Linked DNA regions of Homo sapiens: all the other regions are linked to region 7. The links are contacts of gene promoters, found by promoter capture Hi-C in blood cells and fetal thymus (Javierre and others, 2016). All regions are on one chromosome and are shown on one strand. The core of a region is centred on a gene start or on the middle of the fragment in contact, and the rest is flanking DNA. Distances in the headings are between cores, read along the strand shown. Region 1 has its middle 44 kb from the start of DCD. Region 2 has its middle 7.5 kb from the start of LACRT. Region 3 overlaps DCD (dermcidin). Region 4 has its middle 21 kb from the start of DCD. Region 5 has its middle 6.7 kb from the start of OR2AP1. Region 6 has its middle 9.9 kb from the start of OR10P1. Region 7 holds the start of OR9K2 (olfactory receptor family 9 subfamily K member 2).

Region 1 (2,700 bases), core at 19-2,518, 430 kb after region 7:
TTTCTCTGTTTCTTCCTTAGCTAGTCATCCTGTTTAATCTTCTTCACACTTCTTTTTCATGATGCTAATTTTCCTCAAATATTTGCTAATTCTTTGCTTTAAATGAAGTACTAAGTTGAATATCATCAACACCAGGCATTGGCTCCTTCAGCATTTGTATAGGGGGACTGTCTCTCCCTGGAGCTGGCCAACTGCAGGCTCATGATAAATGGGATGAGGAGGTTGCCAACCAATTCCCTTGTGGTGTGTGAATGGGGAGCTAGCAGGCAATCTGGGAATGAATTTGCTATAAATGACTGGCTTTAGTATGGTTCTCTGTAACAGCCCGTTGTTTTTTGTTTTTTCTGAGACTACTTTGAAAACCCAGAATTACATCAGATCCTGCCCTGTCTCTTTCTGACCTCTCATACCAGCTGAGCCCTTCACATTCACCTGGAAGCAAACACTGAAACCAGCCACTCCTGAAAACAAGTGGAGAAGAGGACCCTCGTTTTTCCTGGGAGAGTTGCTTGCTTAATCCCCTTTACATTCACCCTGTGGCTAGCTCCTCCTCCATATACTTTTTGACTCCTGACTTAAAAGTTCCCAGGTTACTCTAGGAAGAGAGCTTTCATTTCTGCAGTAGCCCTCTCCACATCTCTTCTTGGTTACTCTACTCTAAATTCTCCATTGTCTTATCCCATTTTTTTTTTAAATTAAAGAAATAACAAATGATTATTTATTCCATACTTTTTTTTTCTTCTTTGAGACAGAGTCTTGCTCTGTCGCCCAGGCTGGAGTGCAATGGCACAGTTTCGGCTCACTGCAACCTCTGTCGCCTGGGTCCAAGTGATTCTCCTGCCTCAGCCTCCCTTGTAGCTGGTATTACAGGCGTGCACCACCAAAACCATCTAATTTTTGTATTTTTTAGTAGAGACATGGTTTCACCATGTTGGCCAGGCTGGTCAACTCTTGACCTCAAGTGAGCCGCCTGCCTTGGCCTCCCAGAGTTCTGGGCTTGCAGGTGTGAGCCACCATGTCTGGCCAATAAATCTTACTGAATGGATCCAAGCTGCCTGTTATGTTTTAGATACCAAAGAGGCAGCAATGAACAAGATACAAATCCCTGTCCTTACAAAGCTCTTTTCTTACACTAAATAGCACAGAGATAGAGAAAGGTCATGACCCCTTCCTGTCCCACATTCTCCAATCCCAGTTCCTGAGGTAATATGTGAATAGTTTTGTATATAGTCTTCCACACCTCTCTCTAAGATCCTATAAACAATATCTGTGCTGTTTTGTTTTGTTTCACATAAGGAATCTCACTGTGTGCTCTTACAACTCATTTTTTTAACTTAATGATTTGGTAGAAACATTCTTCCGGTTCCACTATACAGATCCAATTCACTCTCTTAACAGCTGGACAGTATTGAGATTGTACCACAATCTACGCAAGTAACCCCTTATAGACAGACACACATGTATTTTTTTCTATGTGGTTTTAGTTTTGGTTCTCATTTTTTTAGCTGAATGTATGTATGTATTTATCTGTTTGGTTTTTGCTGCTACAAGTCTGTGATAAACATCTTTGTCCATACATCCCTATGTATGTGTGCTTCTGTATACTCTATAGTATACAGTCCCATAATTGGGAACGTTAGGACAAATGATTTATATATTTTTATTTTAATAGATATTGTCAGATTATTTTCCAGAAAGATTGTGGCAAGCCATGTTCTCACTGACAGCCCATGAATTTCCCCATATACTTGGTACTGCTCAATCTTATCAATTTTCCAATTTTTCCTCATATGATAGCTGAAAAAAATTCCTTAATTGGTGTTTTAATTTTCACTTCCCTAATGATCAGAAAGATTTCCATATTTTTATTGGCAATATGTATTTTCTTTCAATAGATTTCCTCTTTATAATTATGGCTAGTTTGGTGATTGTTATTTTTCTCTTCTTGTCATTTTATAGACATTCCCTCCATAAGAAAAATAGTAGCCCTCTGAATATCATATGTATAGCTAAAAATATATATCCTACTCTATTTTATCTTTTAACATTTATAGTATCTTTTGACATGGACAACATTTAAATTTGTAGGTTCTCATAAATGTTTATTTTCTTTTTCAGTTTCTCTTCTCCCTTGCTTAAAAAGATCTTTTTGATTTACATGGATTTACATATTCTCCTGAATGTTCATCTAAGTTTAGAGATGGAGGGGTTAAAAATTGTTTAGGCCATCTGGAATATGTTTTATACATTAGGTAAAGTAAGGAACTGTTTTCTTCTAGTTGAAAGCTGATTATTCTTACATCTTTTATTAAGTGACAAATCAGCCACTGAATTCCAATTAGACTTAAGTCATGTAGATTCTCCACTCAGTCTTACTGAGTATGTCTCTCTCTATTCTTCTGTCAAAGCCATACTATAACTTCTATTCTGACTTAAACTCTGTTCTATTCTTGTGTCAAAGCCACACTACAACTTCCATAGGACAAGGACTTTGTTTTTTATATTCTCTTTGCTATCTCTCCAGTGCCCCAAAGATGCCTCAATGCCTAGAAAAGTGCCTTCCCCATTGTAGGTGCTCAAAAAGTCAATGAACCAATGAATGAATTATAGTAGTTTAAGAATGAGTTTTAATATCTGGAGTGCCAGTGCTCTCATTGTTCTTCTTTCCAAATGTACTAGCAGTTCCCACTCATTTCCTCA
Region 2 (2,847 bases), core at 174-2,673, 500 kb after region 7:
GCTCCTAGGTATTGGAGTCTGGTGCCTGAAGCTTTCCCAGGTGGGTGTTGCATACTGCCAGTGACTGCACACTTCTGGGTTCCCAGTAGTGGTCCCACTCCCACAGCTCTACTAGGCATTACCCTAATGGAGACTCTCTACGGTGGCACCACTTCCATGGCTCTGCTAGATGGGGACTCTTTGCAGTGGCTCTGCCCCTGTGACAAATCTTTGCCTGGGCTCCTAGGCTTTTGATGATATCCTTTGAAATCTTGGTGGAGGCTGCCAAGCTGCCACAGCTTTTGCTGTCTGCAAGCCTGCAGAGTCAGCACCACCTGGACACTGCCAAGGTTTATGGCTTCTACCTTCCAAAACTGCAGCACAAGCTACAATTGGGGTCACTTGAGCCTTGGCTAGGGCAGCCATGAAGCTCTGCACTGGGGTTTCAGGGCAGAGTCCCAAGGCACCATTCTGCCCTTCTAGACCTCTGGGCCTATAACAGGAGGGGCACCCTCAAAGATCTCTGAAATGCATTTCAGGTCTTTCTTCATCGTCTTGAGAAATAGCATCCGGCTCCCTTCTATCTGTGCTAATCTTTTTAGCTGCACCCTTGATCTCCTCTTCTGAATGTGCTTTTTCACTCTTCATGTGGCCAGGCTGACAGTTTTCCAACTCTTTCCACTCTGCTTCCAGTTTAATGTAAATTTTCTTTATCTTTATAATTGTCTTTGAATTATTCCTTTGCTCCCAAATCTCAGCATAAGTGGCCAAAAGTAACCATGCACCTCCTTCTATATTTTGCTTAGAAATTTCTTCTGCAGATACTCTAGTTCGTCACTCTCAAGTTTGGCCTTCCACAAAGCCCTTAAATGTAGACACAGTTCAGTCAAGTTCTCTGTCAATTTATAACAAGGATGGTCTTTACTCCAGTTTCCAATACCTTATTCCTCAGTTCCATCTGAAATCTCATCAGAATGGCCTTACTGTTCATATTTCAACTAGCATTCTGGTCACAATCACTTAACAAATCTCTAAGAAGTTCCAAACTTTCCAAAGAACTGAGGTGCTCCATGAGTTCTCCACCCCTGCAGCAAACTTCTGCCTGGACATCTAGGTGTTTTCATACATCCTCTGAAATCTAGGTGGAGGTTCCCAAACCCCAATTCTTGAATTCTGCGCACTCACAGGCTCAGCACCACATAAAAGCTGCCAAGGCTTGGGGCTTGCACCCTCTGGAGCCACAGCCCAAGCTCTATGTTGGCCCCTTTCAGCCATGGCTAGAGTAGCTCAAACACAAGACACCAAGTCTCTAGGCTGCACAGAGCACAGGTACCCTGGGCCTGGCCCATATAACCACTTTTTCCTCCTAGGCCTCCAGGCCTGTGATGGGAGGGGCTGCTGTGAAAACCTCTGACATGTCCTAGAGACATTTTCCCCATCATCTTGTGGATTAACATTCGGCTCCTCATTACTTGTGCAAATTTCTGCAGCCGGCTTGAATTTCTCTTCAGAAAATGGGATTTTATCTTCTATCACATTGTCAGGCTGCAAATTTTCTGAACATTTATGCTCTGCTTCCCTTATAAAACGGAATGCCTTTAACAGCACCCAAGTCACATCTTGAATGCTTTGCTGCCTAGAAACCTCTTCCACCAAAAACCCTAAATCATCTCTCTCAAGTTCAAAGTTCCACAAATCTCTAGGGCAGAAGCAAAATGCTGCCAGTCTCTTTGCTAACACATAACAAGAGTCACCTTTGCTCCAGTTCCCAAAACAAGTTCCTCATTTCCATCAGAGACCACCTCAGCCTGGACTTTATTGTCCATGTTGCTATCAGCATTTTGGGCAAAGCCATTCAACAAGTCTCTAGGAAGTTCCAGAATTTCCCACATTTCCCTGTCTTCTTCTGAGCCCTCCAAACTGTTCCAGCCTCTGCCTGCTACCCAGTTCCAAAGTTGCTTTCACATTTTCAGGTATCTTTTCAGCAACATCCCACTCTACTGTATTAATCAGTGCTAATACAGTACCAGTTTAGTGTATTAGTCAGTTTTCATGCTGCTGATAAAGACATAGTGGAGACTGGGCAATTTACGAAAGAAAGAGGTTTATTGGACTTAGAGTTCCACGTGGCTGTGGAGGCCTCACAATCATGGTGGAAGGTGAAAGGCACATCTCACATGGCAGCAGACAAGAGAAGAGAGCTTGTGCAGGGAAAATCCCCTTTATAAAACCATCAGATCTCATGAGACTTATTCACTATCACCAGAGCAGCACAGGAAAGGCCTGCCCCCATGATTCAATTACCTCCCACCAGGTCCCTCCCACAACACATGGGAATTCAAGATGAAATTTAGATGGGGACACAGCGAAGCCATATCAGCAGGGATTTCTGTCTGCTCTTTTACTTCTATATCCCCAGTGCCTAGAATAGTGCCTGGAACACAGAAAGCACCCAAGAAACATTGGTTCAATGTTGAATGAATTCACCCACTTCCACCCACCTCCTCATTTATATCCTGTGAGATGAATGTCTCCATCCTCTCTGTTCTTAGAATATGCATTTGCATGTCTGCTATAATACCTCTTCACCAGAGAGGCAACACTTCAGAAGCAGGTCCAGGCGGAATTCATCTCAGAATGCCTAACACTCGGCAGGAAACAGGTGGTTAACCAGTTGTCTGTGTACTGAACGAAGGAGAAGCAAGCTCTAGGATTACCTGCCTACAGCACCCCCAAAATTCCCCAGGTTCATCCTCCTCAAAGGAGAGACAACTTCAACCATTTCACATTCACAAATTGGTGACTTTGGACACACAGTGATTATGACAAAGCTTGATGAAGGAGCAAGAGCTAACCCCAGATACTGTT
Region 3 (2,700 bases), core at 68-2,567, 480 kb after region 7:
GACAATCAGAACAACTCCTGCCCTGTCACTAGAGCAGGTGCTGTGGTCATGCCCTCGTGGTCATGCCCCTTCAACTTTCATTATGAAACTTGGACATCTAAGACATAGAAGAGAGTCAGAGAATGATTCCATTTCCATAGGGATGTTCTGAGTAGCCTAGGTCTAGGGAGGATAACAGAGAGAGGGATTTGGTTGAGATACCAAAAAGCATTTCTAGTGGGCCCCTTGTGAAGCAGAGATTTCTCTCCTGTCTGTCCACTGCCACACTCCTGAGATTAGAGGCCTGGGAATTCTAGGCAGCCCTGGCTGGATACAGCTCATGCAACTGTGCCCTACTTGACATGGTCACTGTTCCCTCCTTTGCAGATGATCCAGAGGCCGCCTCTGCCCCAGGATCGGGGAACCGTGAGTCCTTTCTCTTCCTCCTGCCCCAGTCCTGGGTGGGAGGGTTAATGACTTGGGATATGAGTGGAGGAAGTCAGAGAAGCAGAAGGGGGGTCCGGGGAAGGAGAGTTGGGAGGCCGACTTTTAGGAGACATGGAGAAGGGAGACTTCCTGAGAGACTCATGCACTGGAGAAGGACAGAGCATGGGGGAAAGGGTGGCCCTGTCTGGAAGTAGAAGTGGAGTAAGAAAAATGGGAAAGAAAAGAATACTTTTCTTGAGCAAGAGGAGGAACTTCACATTAGATGGGTTCAGAGGTTTTCATCTGCCCCACCTTCACCAACAATTTCAATTCAAAAACCTTTCACGTGGTTTCCCATTTCTCATCACGAAACTCTCACCTCCTAGCCTGACATTCAGGGTATCCATGATCTAGATCCAGGGTACTTTTCAAATATAATTTCCCTAGACTCCACTGCTTGCATTCTCCACATCAAACGTTATACATTTGTTTCATCAGACAGCATGAGTAACTTTCTACTACCCAACGTTCCTCTTCCTGGGTACCTTTTCAACCCCTACCTGTCCGTGCTCTAACAAGCTTCAAGTCCCAGCTGCTCTCTGAAGCCCTCCCTGCCTGGTGTGTATGGTGCCTCTGTCCCAGTCTCTCCTTTCATCCCTCCCTCTTCTGGGCTTCCCATATATAGCAGTTTTGTCTCTTTTCCTAGACTGTAAGCCCCTGAGAGAGAGATCTAATTCTCATTCATTTCTACTTCCCCAGCCATGTACACACTCTGGATAATTAACGGCAGAAAGATAAACTGTATTTCTGCACATCTTCACTGCACTGCGAGCCCCAACCACAGCACACACCTGCACCCTCCCTGCCTTCTCACATAAAGCCCAGAGGGAACACCGGGCACCTTGGTGTCTTCTCAGATGCCCCTGGAGCGTTTCACACCAATGCAATAACAGAAGTTTTGATTTTCCAGATAAACAAATGGATTGTTTACAGCTACAGAAGCCCCCTTCAGAGACTGCCAAATTTCTGTCCTCATCCACCAACCTGCCTAGAAGAGAGAAGCTAGTGCCCTCTGCAAAACCTCCCCACACTAGGGGGCTGGTATAAGGGATGAAAACTAGGGGGAGTCTCTTTAAGGTGATCTTTCTGCCAAAATGACTTTACTTTTCCCTGAACCATAATCTACTCTAGAAAAGGGCCCTGGAGGAGCAGGAAAAGTCTTGGAGGCAGCAGGAAAAAGCTTGAGGGATGCTAAAGAACCTAACACATCATGAAAGTCAAGCTCTAGAGGAATTGGGAGAGAGGGAGCTATCCTCAAGCCAGACCTTGAGGGGGTAAAAGCACCACCTGCTCCCCGACCAGGGTGGAAAGAGTGAAATAGCTATTATTCCTCTCACTCCCTTACCCTTGCAGCTTGCCATGAAGCATCAGCAGCTCAAAAGGAAAATGCAGGTGAAGACCCAGGGTTAGCCAGACAGGCACCAAAGCCAAGGAAGCAGAGATCCAGCCTTCTGGGTAAGCCTCTTTCCCAATGCCTGGTATAGAATTCTGATGCATGAAACAGCAAGATATCTGGGGGCCAGTCTGCCCTCACAGGCACAAGCACAGGGACACAGCTACACCCATATTCCTAGGGAGGGCTTGGGGTGCACACCTGCTTCTACATACAGGGTTTCTGGGCCATAGGTTTTGCAGCTAATACTGGCCTACCAACCTTCCCATGACAGAGAAGTTGGTTCCTTCAGCAAAACCACTTCACCTTAGGGGTGCCCATGGTGCCTAGGAAGCGGGGGAGCTCTCCTACAAAGGAAGTAGTTTTTCTGCTTCTATGACCTCTTCTTTTCTGAATCCACCCTAGAAAAAGGCCTAGACGGAGCAAAAAAAGCTGTGGGGGGACTCGGAAAACTAGGAAAAGATGCAGTCGAAGATCTAGAAAGCGTGGGTAAAGGTGAGTATATGTCCCCACTCCTCCCTCAGGACCAGCCTCAGTCTCCACCCCTTGCATGAGATCTGAAACTGCCACAGCCCCCCCATTGAAGACCCCTCACTTTGTGCTTTCAAATGTCTCCAATTCCTCATCCAGATTTAAATTGCCATTCTTGTCTGATATTGATACTTCCTGGGGTCTAACTTGCTTTTTTTTTTATTGCTCTTGCCCCCTGCCCCTGCCAAGGTGGGGAAGAGAGGTTGGTCTTTGGGGCTCCTGTGAATCTAACCTCCATCCCTCTGACTTCTGTGTAAGCACCTCCAGGCCTCCCTTCCCCTTCCCCTTCCCCTACCTCTCCTTCCCCAATT
Region 4 (3,028 bases), core at 58-2,557, 460 kb after region 7:
AGGAAACAAGAGTGAGAAAGGTCAGAAAAATAAATTTCTTAGTACATCTTAGAATAATAAGTTCTACAATAGTCTATTAGAGGGTGCAATGAAGCTATTAGAACTAAGCCTAATCAAAACTTTCAGGATAGAAGATTCCCAGAGAAAGTGATATAAAATGAAAAATTACTCAAATATGAGTATTGGAGGAGAAAGGGAAGATAATGTTTCAGAAAGAAGGATCAGCAGGTGCAAAATCCCAGAGATAAGTGCAAACAACGTGTGCTCAAGGAACTCAAAGAAAAATGCATAGCTAGGACATAAACTAAGAGGTGAAATGTGGAAGAGATGGTAGGAAGAGGCCAGATCATGAAAGACCTCAAAAGCCTTGTTTAACTGATATTTTTTAAAGGTCCAGGAGAAATTAAAGTGCAAGGAAGAGTAGCGATAATCAACAGAGCAATATTCCTGAGAAGGCAGGAGGAGACAGGAGTCAGATCTTAGATGAAGGGTTAAGTTTTAGGCAAGAGAAAGAAAAACTCTCACATAGTTACTGTAAAAAAGAAAGAAAAGGTGGACACAAGTACATGTAAGGTTACAAATATATTGGTAGGAAATAAAGGGAATTTGTACCAAAACACTTGTATTTTCTCTGTGAAGCTGATGAAGTCACTAGGTGTGTGTGAAGGATGTAGTGGGATCCTAGTTGAGGTTACAAACCAGAAGTTTATAATGTATAATCTTTATGGTTTTATATCCTTTTTTTCCTACAAGTGCTCAATAGCCCTGGAATAGGACAGAGAGAGTAGAGAGCTAGATTTATCAAGACTCAGAATTTGCCAAACTTTGTAAAAATGAGGTCAGGAAGTGACACAGATTGGCAAAAAACTTCTCTAAGTGGAAGACCATGTAATTTAACCTGGAAAGGAAAGAACGTGAAGACTGGAGTAGGCATACAGAAAAAGAGAAAATAAAATGGTCAGGGAACTGAAGTTTGAAAAATAAATATAGAAGAAGTATCAGAATGAAAGAGTTGGAAGGATAGGTGATATGTGGTGAGGATGTGGGTGTTTTCAGAATTGGAGTAACTCTAAGAAATGACCACGGCCACAGATTGACCATGGGAGTTGGGGTGAAAGTTATGATAAGGTCAATTTCTACTTTCACCCGAACTTCCATGGTTCCCTAGAACCCAGACTTCTGGGTAAGTCATGGTCATGATCCATGAAGTTGTCCAGCAGCTTAAAACAAAAAAGAAGACCACCACTCAGGAGTAAGTCTTCCATGAAGGAAAGGAGTCGCTGGGAGCCCAGCAGGTGAAACAATGAGGAGGGGTAGACAGATGACCCAAGACTCCTCCGAGGAGGAGGTATTAGTGATATGACTCAATGGACTCTGCAGTGGAGTCTAGGATGATCCACATGTCTGTGAATTCCACTGCCCAACCTAAGAAGCATGGCTGTGGGAATGAGTGGACTGCACTTCAGAAGAGACTCAGGGAGAACCATGTTTTCCTATTGGGATTGCATAATTTAATTTAGTTAATTTCTGCTTTTACATCTATTAATGCCCTCTTCTATTTTTCACATTGTTTGATTAGACATTTTCTAGTTTCTAAACTTGAATTTACTTTTGCTACATGTTCATTTCTCATAAAATACTAAACACCAGGGATCCTCTAAGAACAGTTGGCTGCAAAGTAAAGGTGCGCAGCGTTCACATATCCATTTCCAAAACAATCATCACTTAAGGCTCTGTTTTCTTTTTTTTATTATTATTATTATACTTTAAGTTTCAGGGTACATGTGCACAATGTGCAGGTTAGTTACGTATGTATACATGTGCCATGCTGGTGTGCTGCACCCATTAACTCGTCATTTAGCATTAGGTATATCTCCTAATGCTATCCCTTTCCCCTCCCCCCACCCCACAACTGTTTTCCTTTTAACCTAAGAAAGATTGTTGTTTTTCCCCAGGGACTCTTTTTTTAATTATTATGATTTGCCTTTCATTTTTAATTTCTAACTTGTATTATATGGTGGTAAGAAAAAGTGGCCTTTACAATTTCTTCTTTGGAGAATGGATTGAGGTATTCTTTGATACCTAGTATTTAATCGATTTTGTAAAACCACACAGGTATTGAAAAAATGTTTATTCTTTTCATTGGCTATAACATTCAAGCAAGTTTGTCAATTGTGTTATTCAAATGTTCTGTATACAAAATTATATTCTGTCCACATAAACTGTCACCTTCCGAGACTTAACAGATCGATGTCTCCTACAGAGAGTGTGGCTCTGTCAGGTAGTCCTCATAGTCATCACAGTTTTTGCTTTGTTTCAATGCAAGTGTGATGCATAAAAGTTTGTAACTATTACATCTTCTCAGTGAATTTTACCTTTTTTAAACCTATGCGATTTAAAACAGCACTTCATGTTCTCTTTAATTATTTTGGCCTTGCGTTCTATTTTGCCAGATAATGTTGCTATTCCATTTACCTAACATTTCTCTCTCCATCTCTTTATATTCAACATTTGTGTGTCACTTTATTTCTGGTGTGTCTATTATAAAAGAAATCTATGACTGCAGTTCACCTTCTAACCCTGCCATTTATTTATTCTTTTCTTGTTCTTTCTTTCCTTCTGAATCTTTGCTGGATTGATCAAGTTCTTTGTTGTTGTTGCTCTTTTCTACTCTGCCACGTTAAAAGATTTATAAATCAGTTAGAATTCAGTTCAGCTGCATGGAATAGAAACTCCAAAATAAGCAGCGTAAAGACATAAGCTTCTCCCCAGCCCCTAAGTAAAAGAAGACTAGAGAAAGGCAGCCTAGGACTCCTGGTAGGAGGCCCCGCTGTCCTCAGGAATCCAGCCACCTCTTTTCTTTCTGCCCTATCATTCTCAAGGACCTAAGGACACAACTTCTAGTCTCAAGGCCATATGGCAGTTGTGGTGGCTCCAGCCAACCTGTCCAATTTCCAAACAGCGGGAAGAAAGAAGGGAAATGGGCACAAAAACACGTGTCTGCTGAGTCAGCTCCTTTTAAGAAATC
Region 5 (2,800 bases), core at 237-2,736, 450 kb before region 7:
AACTTTGTACCTTCTGCACAGTGGGCTAGCCTCGATTCTTCTGTGTCATCTTGTTCTCAAATTGATTTTGTCATTTGATTCTCAAGTGTCCCTTCCCACTAGTGTTCACACAGACATTTTTGCCCAGCTTGAGGCTAACTTTACCTATAGCTGCTCAGAGTGATGCATTTATAGGCACTTGTTTCCAATCAGGTGAGATCTTCAGAGAAACCAAAACTAGTGGGATGGTTCAAGACTAAAACCATGGGATTGAGCTGGGAAGGGCTGTGGGTAAACAAAATTTGCCAGGGGCTGGAGGAAAGGAGAGATTGTCAGGTGAGATGGAGAGGTGGTGTAGATTAGGCACTTAGAATGCTTGAGTTTGAGATACCTATTACACATCCACCATTGAATTTAGTAATGTGGCAAGAGGTCCTTGACCATAAAGATTTTCAACTTTTAAGAGACTAGACCAAGCAGAATAAATAATTTCTGAAGTTGAAAACAGGTCTTTTGAAATAACACAGGCAGACTGAAAAACAAAAGAGAGAAGTGAACAAAGCCTATAGGATTTACAGGACACCATTAAGCAAACAAATATTCATATTCTGGGCATTTTAGGAGAAGAAAATAAGGGAAATGGTATAGAAAGCATATTTAATAAAATAATAGGTCAAAATTTTCCAATTCTTGAGAGAGGGCTGGACATCCAAATACGGGAATCTCAAAGAAACCCAAATAGATTCAACCCAAACATGTCCTATCCAAGACACATTTTAGTCAAATTGTCAGAAGCCAAAGACAAAGAAAAAATTTCTAAAAACACCAGGGAAAAACATTAAGTCATGTATAAGGGAATCCCCATTTCACTAACAGTAGATTTCTCAGCAGAAGCCTTACAGGCCAGGAGAGAATGGAATGATGTATTCAAAGTACTGAAAGAAAAAAAAACCCTGCTAGCCAACAATATTATGCCCAGCAAAGCCATCCTTCAGAAATGAAGGAGAAATAAAATATGTGACAAACAAGCAAAAATGAAGGGAATTAATAGTCACCATACTGGACTTACAAGAAATGTTCAAGGGAGTCATACATCTGGAAGAGAAAAGATGATAACCACCATGGTGAAAATATGCAAAACTATAAACTCACTGGTAGAGCCAATAGAGAAAGGAGAAACAAAGGAATCAAATCTTATTACTACAGAAACTACCCAACCACAAAAATAGACAATAAGATAGGAAGTAAGGAACAAGGGATATACAAAACAACCAGAAAACAATAAATAAGACCAAATCTACATCTCTAAGCCAAAAGAATAAAGCTGGAGGCATCACGCTACCTGACTTCAAACTATACTAAAAGGCTACAGTAACCAAAAGAGCATGGTACTGGTACCAAAACAGAGATATAGATCAATGGAACAGAACAGAGCCCTCAGAAATAATGCCACATATCTACAACTATCTGATCTTTGACAAACCTGGCAAAAACAAGAAATGGGGAAACGATTCCATATTAAATAAATGGTGCTGGGAAAACTGGCTAGCCATATGTAGAAAGCTGAAACTGGATCCCTTCCTTATACCTTATACAAAAATTAATTCAAGATGGATTAAAGACTTAAACATTAGACCTCAAACCATATAAACCCTAGAAGAAAACCTAGGCATTACCATTCAGGACATAGACATGGGCAAGGACTTCATGTCTAAAACACCAAAAGCAATGGCAACAAAAGCCAAAATTGACAAATGGGATCTAATTAAAGAGCTTCTGCACAGCAAAATAAACTACCATCAGAGTGAACAGGCAACCTACAAAATGGGAGAAAATTTTTGCAATCTACTCATCTGACAAAGGGCTAATATCCAGAATCTATAAATAACTCAAACAAATTTACAAGAAAAAATCAAACAACCCCATCAACAAGTGGGTGAAGGATATCAACACACACTTCTCAAAAGAAGACATTTATGCTGCCAAAAGACACATGAAAAAATGTTCGTCATCACAGGCCATCAAAGAAATGCAAATCAAAACCACAATGAGATACCATTTCACACCAGTTAGAATGGCAATCATTAAAAAGTCAGGAAACAACAGGTGCTGGAAAGGATGTGGAGAAATAGGAACAGTTTTACACTGTTGGTGGGACTGTAAAGTAGTTCAACCATTGTGGGAGTCAGTGTGGCGATTCCTCAGGGATCTAGAACTAGAAATACCATTTGAGCCAGCCATCCCATTACTGGGTATATACCCAAAAATTATAAATCATGCTGCTATAAAGACACATGCACACGTATGTTTATTGTGGCACTATTCACAATAGCAAAGACTTGGAACCAACCCAAATGTCCAACAATGATAGACTGGATTAAGAAAATGTGGCACATATACATCATGGAATACTGTGCAGCCATAAAAAATGATGAGTTCATGTCCTTTGTAGGGACATGGTTGAAGCTGGAAACCATCATTCTCAGTAAACTATCGCAAGGACAAAAAACCAAACACCACATGTTCTCACTCATAGGTGGGAATTGAACAATGAGAACACATGGACACATGAAGGGGAACATCACACACTGAGGCCTGTTGTGGGGTGGGGGGAGGGGGAAGGGATAGCATTAGGAGATATACCTAATGTTAAATGATGAGTTAATGGGTGCAGGACACCAACATGGCACATGTATACATATGTAACAAACCTGCACGTTGTGCACATGTATCCTAAAACTTAAAGTATAATAAAAAAAAGCTATGACAATTGCTTGAACCTTAAGTAATAAAGAAATTTTTCATTTGTACATTAGTTATT
Region 6 (2,867 bases), core at 3-2,502, 500 kb before region 7:
GCTAATTCTGTTGCTGGCTTTTATGACTAAGGGAATCTGAAGGTGTGAGAAGTGCCATGGCTGAATTGGTGCTGTTTGGAGCCTGTGAAAAGCCCCATTCACAGAAGAGTTGTAGTGGAGGCCCCAAGGATTCAGAGAAAGTCCACGCCCTCTTCACCAAGTAACTATTATACTTTTGAGAAATATCTCCTTGTTTGTTATTTATGTATTTTTGAGACAGGGTCTCACTTTGTCATCCAGGCTGGAGTGCAGTGACACAATCAGGACTCATTGCAGCCTCGACCTCCTGGGCTCAAGCAATCCTTCTGTCTCAGCCCCCCTGAGTAGCTGGGACTACAGGTGTGCGCCAGCACGCCTGGCTAAGTTTTAAAACTTTTTTAGTAGCAATGAGGTTTCACTATGTTCCCCAGGCTGGTCTCAAATTCTTGAGCTCAAGTGATCCTCCTGCCTTGGCCTCCCAAAGTGCTGGGATTACAAGCACAAGCCACTGCTCTGAGCCATTGCTTGTTATTTGATCTCTGGCAGAGGATAAACACCTGACCCTGGGATACCAGGTGACTCTGCAACCTGAGCTGCCCTTTATGACCTGGGTGTTTCCCAATTGATAAAGCTGCATGGTCAGGCCCAGAAGCACCCCATCTTCAAGTGAAGGGGCATACATGAGATCAGACTTGAAGAAGTCCTGAAGTCACAAGGACATTCCACCAGTTCATGGTCCACACTCCCGTCATGTCTATTCTTGACACACTAATGTCCTTTCTTCCTATGGCCTCATGTAGTGTTCCTCATGACTGGTTGATGGAGGAGGAAAAATATTTGGGCCCAGCTTTACAGAGAACTTTGCACAACTCTGCTGGGACTAACTAGATATGGACATCTATGGCATTATAGCCCCAGTAATGGGGGTTGACCCTGAGGAAAAAAGGGGTGACCTGAGGAAGAGTGGAGAAGAAAAATGCCTGCTGAGCAGAATTTTGATAGTACAACTTAAAGAGTCTGCTTTTCCTGGAAGAAGGATGGCCTGAGATATGGATTTACATTGATCCATGAGCAGCAGCTAATGGTTTGTTTGGCAGGAGGTTTAGGAAGTAGAAGGAACAATACAGGAGAATGAGTGACAAGGCATTCTGGGGATCATCATCATCACCATCATCATCATCACTAACACTTCTGTAATGCTCACTCTGTGTCAGATATTGTTCTAAGCACTTTTTATATATTAACTTACTGAATCCTCCCAAAACACTGTGGGGTAGTTTCAACTATTATGCTGACTTTACTGAAGAGGAATCTGAGGCATAGCGTGGTTAGGCACTTGAACAAGACCATACAGCTAGTAAATGGCTGAGCTGGCATTTGAATCCAGGTGATCTGGCTGCAGAGTTCATGCTCTCAACCATCTTACTATTCTATGAATGAGCTTTTGAAAATGGGTCCAGACTGCGAGACTATTTGTGAATATGTGGGACAATGGTGAGACAATGTGGATGCTCACGAAAGGTCTCTCACTACAGAAGATACTGTTAATACTTAGGGATCAAGATGACCCAGCTGGTAGATGTCAGTCAGCCTTCTCCAGCATCTCCAGTGCTTATTCAAGGGATCACAATCAAAATGTCCATGGCGGAAGGGATGAAGGTTAGGCACAGGCTTACCGACAATGGTTCCCCTCACCAAGGCTGGTCTGGCTATGCCATGGCTGAGTGTGTAACTTGCCAGTAACAATAGCTTGGTGTAGTAGGCAGCCTCTAAGATAGTTCTCCATGAAACTCATCTTCTGATACTCATGCATTTGTGTAATTCTCTCCCTTTTAGTGTAGGTTGGAACCAGTGACCTGCTTTTAATGAAGGGAACATGGCAAAAGTGATGGGATATCTGACATTATGTTGCAAAAAGACTTGGCTTTCATCTTGGGTCCTGTCTGGTTCTCCTCTGCCTCTGTCTCTGTCTTTCTCTTCCCCCTTCTCACAAGTTGCCATATTGAGGACACTCGGCAGCCTGTGGAGAGACTCACATGAGGAAGAGCCAAAGCCTGCCAGCAACCATGTGAGTGAACCTGGAAATAGATCTGAGGCCTGCCAACAGGCACATGAATGAGTTTAGAAGTGGATTTTCCAACCTCAGTTGTCCCTTAAGTGACTGCACCCTCGGTGACAGCTTGACTCCATCCTCGTGAGAGACCCTGAGCGAGAGGCACCCAGCTCATTGCTCTCTCCTGGATTCTTGACCAACTCAAACTGTGAGATGATAATTGTCTGTGGTTTTAGGCAGGGAAGTTTTGTAGTAATTTGTTACATAGCAATGGGTAACTAATATGCCTGGGGATAGTTTGATTACATTGTACCCCTTGCCTGAAGGAGGCAATGCTCTGCACTCACTGGGATAATCACTTACTCTGGGCATGGATTTATCTTTCCTGTCTGCCTGCATCTGCAAGTGTCACCATCCACGGACTTACTGAATGCTGCATTTGTTGTCATGATATTTCACATAATATTGCATCTAATCAAGGAAAAAATATATAGCAAAACAAGTGAGACAATGTGCCAATGCTCACAGGACTCATTGGGATTACCCTGTAACTTCATTCCCCAGAACCACCTGGCCTTTTTTGAACAATAGAATGGCCAATTAAAAACTCAAATACAGCACCAGTTGGGAGAAAAAACCTTGAAAAGTTTGAGTGATCTCTTATAGGTGAGACATAGGCTCTGAACCCCAGACCAATATGTGGTATTCTCCTATAACCGAAATACAATAGCCAAATAGCCAAAATACAAATACAAAATACATTGGTTACCAAGGGGTTGAAGTAGGAGTGGCACCCCTTGCCACTAAACCTAACGACTTGCAAAATATTTGCTTC
Region 7 (2,721 bases), core at 51-2,550:
ACAAAACATTCTCAGTTGAGGGGAAGAATCAATCTGTTAAAAGTTTAGAGAGATGAAGAACTCTTGGAGAAATGGAATATTTTGCCTGAGAAAAAAGATTATTAAGAGAAAAGCTGAATAAGATGTTATCATTATTTAAGACTGTATTAAATGTTGAAAATAAAATATTCACCCATTTTATCAAAAATTAAATATGTAAGTAATTAAGAAGTAGTAAGAGCTTACATTAGATTGCACTTAGGGTCTGGAAAGATGTGAGACATTTAAGAAGTGAAAGAAAGCTGACTGAAGTCAGCATGAAAAATCATTTTTTGAAAAATAATATATATAATTTATCTTCATTTTATTCTCATCTAGAAGCAAAACAGATTATTTTAATTTCTAAGATTTATTTCTATCAAACTCATTTCAACATTAGAATTTAATATTATTATTAATAGTAATTATTCCTCACTTGACAATAATATCCTTAACATCAAACTCAGCTTGTTTGCTGCGTATTGTCAACATAATGTTCTGAATCTAGTGAATGACAATAATTCAATACATATTATTACGTAGAAAAAAGCTGAATGATAATGAGTATGTGGAATCAGAGAATATAAAAAAACAAACTTATTAAAATAAATTTATATCATAAATGTTATAAACATTGTAACATTATAAATGTTAATAAATGCATTGCTGATGACATTTTTTACCTGGAAAAGGGAGTTATTCCCGCAGAAGCCAACAACAAGTAGTCAGTTTGTGACTTATTTTTCAAAAACTTACAGGTTTTAAGTTACTTTTACCTTGTATTGTTTAGTAACTGGTCAGATTCTGGTAAAAATCAATCAGCAGAGTTCCAATGTTTTCCTCTGTTTATTGTTTTAATTCTAGAAAGGATAAACATAAAGTTAATTAATGACTGTCATAATTATAAATACTGAAAAATAATTACTTTGAAATAAAATGAATCATTCCCCACAAATCCACATTTATTATTACAGTTTTAGATTCTTCCCATAGATAAATGTGGCTTATGTGCCTCATTGCTCTATTTTAAAAAGTCTTTTTTTCAGTAGTTGATTTCCTGAAAAGTTTTATAGTCCTTTTTAGAAGAGAGTCAAGGTGAATTTTTCAAATCATGTTCTGCCAAAACTGAAGTGATTCCAGGAACAAAAATCTATAGATAAGCAAAGTGAACCTGAGGAATCAATCCACAAGATATTATCTATCCTGAATTCTCAGAAACTTGTATGCTTTCAAGGCAAGAGGATAGATTGCCATGGATATGCAAGTAGAGGTCCTGAGCTCTTTGGCATCTCTGAATACTGCCAAAATATCAACAGCAGTTATCCACGAGGGCTTCGGTTTTGCTACAGCTTTTTCATATAATTACAGTATTGAGATTTCCTCTATGTTCTGGGAGACAGTACCTCTGGGAGAGAAGAACACAAGTCAATTAATTAGTAAGACTTCTAGGATCTAAAAGCAAGATCCATGAAGACCTCAGAGATTCTATATTTTTTTAAAAAGCCTAAGAGTACTTAAAGTACATATGAGACATTCTTTAGGAAAAATCACAAGGATCTTTTAATTTTAATTTCTTCACTGAAAAAGCAGCATTTTCAATTTATCATTATAGCACAGTTTTTGATAAGCAAGTAGAAATAGATACGAAAGGAAATGTTGTGGTTCATAATGCCATTTGTAGGAAAATTTTGAGTCCTAATCATAAAGTTAATTTCATATTTACTTTCAGAATTCTATTCACCCAAATCTCTCCTTGATGACTTTTTAAACTATATTTTCTCAATAGTAATTGAGAAGAAAGATAGAACAGCACGACCATGATATGGGCAAAAATCCAACAAACGCCCTCTAATCCATCAAGTAAAGGCCACATGATTAACTGGATCTAAAGTTGGGTTTATATTGTAATTTTAATTGCTTTAAAGTTGTTTATTCAGGTGTCATGTATTAAGTTAGTAACTTCTCATCAGTCCCTGTATATAGTTCAAAATAATTTAAAGAACTGTTGGTTCCTTCCGGTGAGTGTTAAAGTTCTTAAAGGTGGTGTGTCCGGAGTTTGTTCCTTCAGATATTTAGATGTGTCCAGAGTTTCTTCCTTCTGGTGGGTTTGTGGTCTCACTGACTTCAAAAGTGAGTTACAGCTCTTAAAATCTCTTAAAGGTGGCATGTCTGGAGTTGTTCGTTCCTCCCGGTGGGTTTGTGGTCTCGCTGACTTGGAACCAACCCAAATGTCCAACAATGATAGACTGGATTAAGAAAATGTGGCACATATACACCATGGGATACTATGCAGTCATAAAAAAGGATGAGTTCATGTCCTTTGTTGGGACACGGATGAAGCTGGAAACCATCAGTCTCAGCAAACTATGGCAAGGACAGAAAACCAAACACCGCACGTTCTCACTCATAGGTGGGAATTGAACAACTACAACACTTGGACACAGGGTGGGGAACATCAGACACCGGGGCCTGTCCTGAGGTGGCGGGGGGGGACAGATAGCATTAGGAGATATACCTAATGTAAATGATGAGTTAATGGGTGTAGCACACCAACATGGCACATGTATACATATGTAACACACCTGCACGTTGCGCACATGTACCCTAGAACTTAAAGTCTAATAATAATTAAAAAACAAAAACAAAAAAAGAAAAGAAAAAAAACAAAAAGGAGTGAAGCTTCAGACCTTTGCAATGAGTGTT

The links. The method cuts DNA at HindIII sites, captures the fragments that hold promoters and counts their contacts. A CHiCAGO score of 5 or more calls a contact.
Region 1: a contact is called between a fragment that was not itself captured here and the fragment with the promoter of OR9K2 in region 7, in 12 of 17 cell types (naive CD8 T cells, total CD8 T cells, non-activated CD4 T cells and 9 more). The highest score is 13.7, in naive CD8 T cells.
Region 2: a fragment that was not itself captured here is called in contact with the fragment with the promoter of OR9K2 in region 7 in 1 of 17 cell types (non-activated CD4 T cells); the score reaches 5.2 in non-activated CD4 T cells.
Region 3: a contact is called between a fragment that was not itself captured here and the fragment with the promoter of OR9K2 in region 7, in 1 of 17 cell types (naive CD8 T cells). The highest score is 5.4, in naive CD8 T cells.
Region 4: a contact is called between a fragment that was not itself captured here and the fragment with the promoter of OR9K2 in region 7, in 9 of 17 cell types (total CD4 T cells, activated CD4 T cells, M2 macrophages and 6 more). The highest score is 9.7, in total CD4 T cells.
Region 5: a fragment that was not itself captured here is called in contact with the fragment with the promoter of OR9K2 in region 7 in 1 of 17 cell types (M2 macrophages); the score reaches 6.6 in M2 macrophages.
Region 6: a fragment that was not itself captured here is called in contact with the fragment with the promoter of OR9K2 in region 7 in 8 of 17 cell types (naive B cells, M0 macrophages, M2 macrophages and 5 more); the score reaches 11.6 in naive B cells.

Annotation. Positions count from the first base shown.
Region 1 is chr12:54,691,268-54,693,967 of GRCh38, reverse strand. No RefSeq gene overlaps it. Among named protein-coding and RNA genes, the nearest start is that of DCD, 44 kb to the right of the region's middle. The HindIII fragment of the contact is 9,388 bases long and covers 1-2,700 here.
Region 2 is chr12:54,625,981-54,628,827 of GRCh38, reverse strand. No RefSeq gene overlaps it. Among named protein-coding and RNA genes, the nearest start is that of LACRT, 7.5 kb to the left of the region's middle. The HindIII fragment of the contact is 2,779 bases long and covers 34-2,812 here.
Region 3 is chr12:54,644,826-54,647,525 of GRCh38, reverse strand. DCD (dermcidin) reads left to right here. Exons shown (of 5, transcript NM_053283.4): 2 at 367-405; 3 at 1,819-1,920; 4 at 2,264-2,353. Among named protein-coding and RNA genes, the nearest start is that of DCD, 2.2 kb to the left of the region's middle. The HindIII fragment of the contact is 661 bases long and covers 987-1,647 here.
Region 4 is chr12:54,668,124-54,671,151 of GRCh38, reverse strand. No RefSeq gene overlaps it. Among named protein-coding and RNA genes, the nearest start is that of DCD, 21 kb to the right of the region's middle. The HindIII fragment of the contact is 2,913 bases long and covers 1-2,763 here.
Region 5 is chr12:55,577,810-55,580,609 of GRCh38, reverse strand. It overlaps the pseudogene ATMINP2. Among named protein-coding and RNA genes, the nearest start is that of OR2AP1, 6.7 kb to the right of the region's middle. The HindIII fragment of the contact is 3,940 bases long and covers 1-2,800 here.
Region 6 is chr12:55,625,563-55,628,429 of GRCh38, reverse strand. No RefSeq gene overlaps it. Among named protein-coding and RNA genes, the nearest start is that of OR10P1, 9.9 kb to the left of the region's middle. The HindIII fragment of the contact is 3,558 bases long and covers 1-2,867 here.
Region 7 is chr12:55,124,985-55,127,705 of GRCh38, reverse strand. OR9K2 (olfactory receptor family 9 subfamily K member 2) reads right to left here and starts at 1,300. Exons shown (of 3, transcript NM_001005243.2): 1 at 1,190-1,300; 2 at 795-878. The HindIII fragment of the contact is 7,142 bases long and covers 1-2,699 here.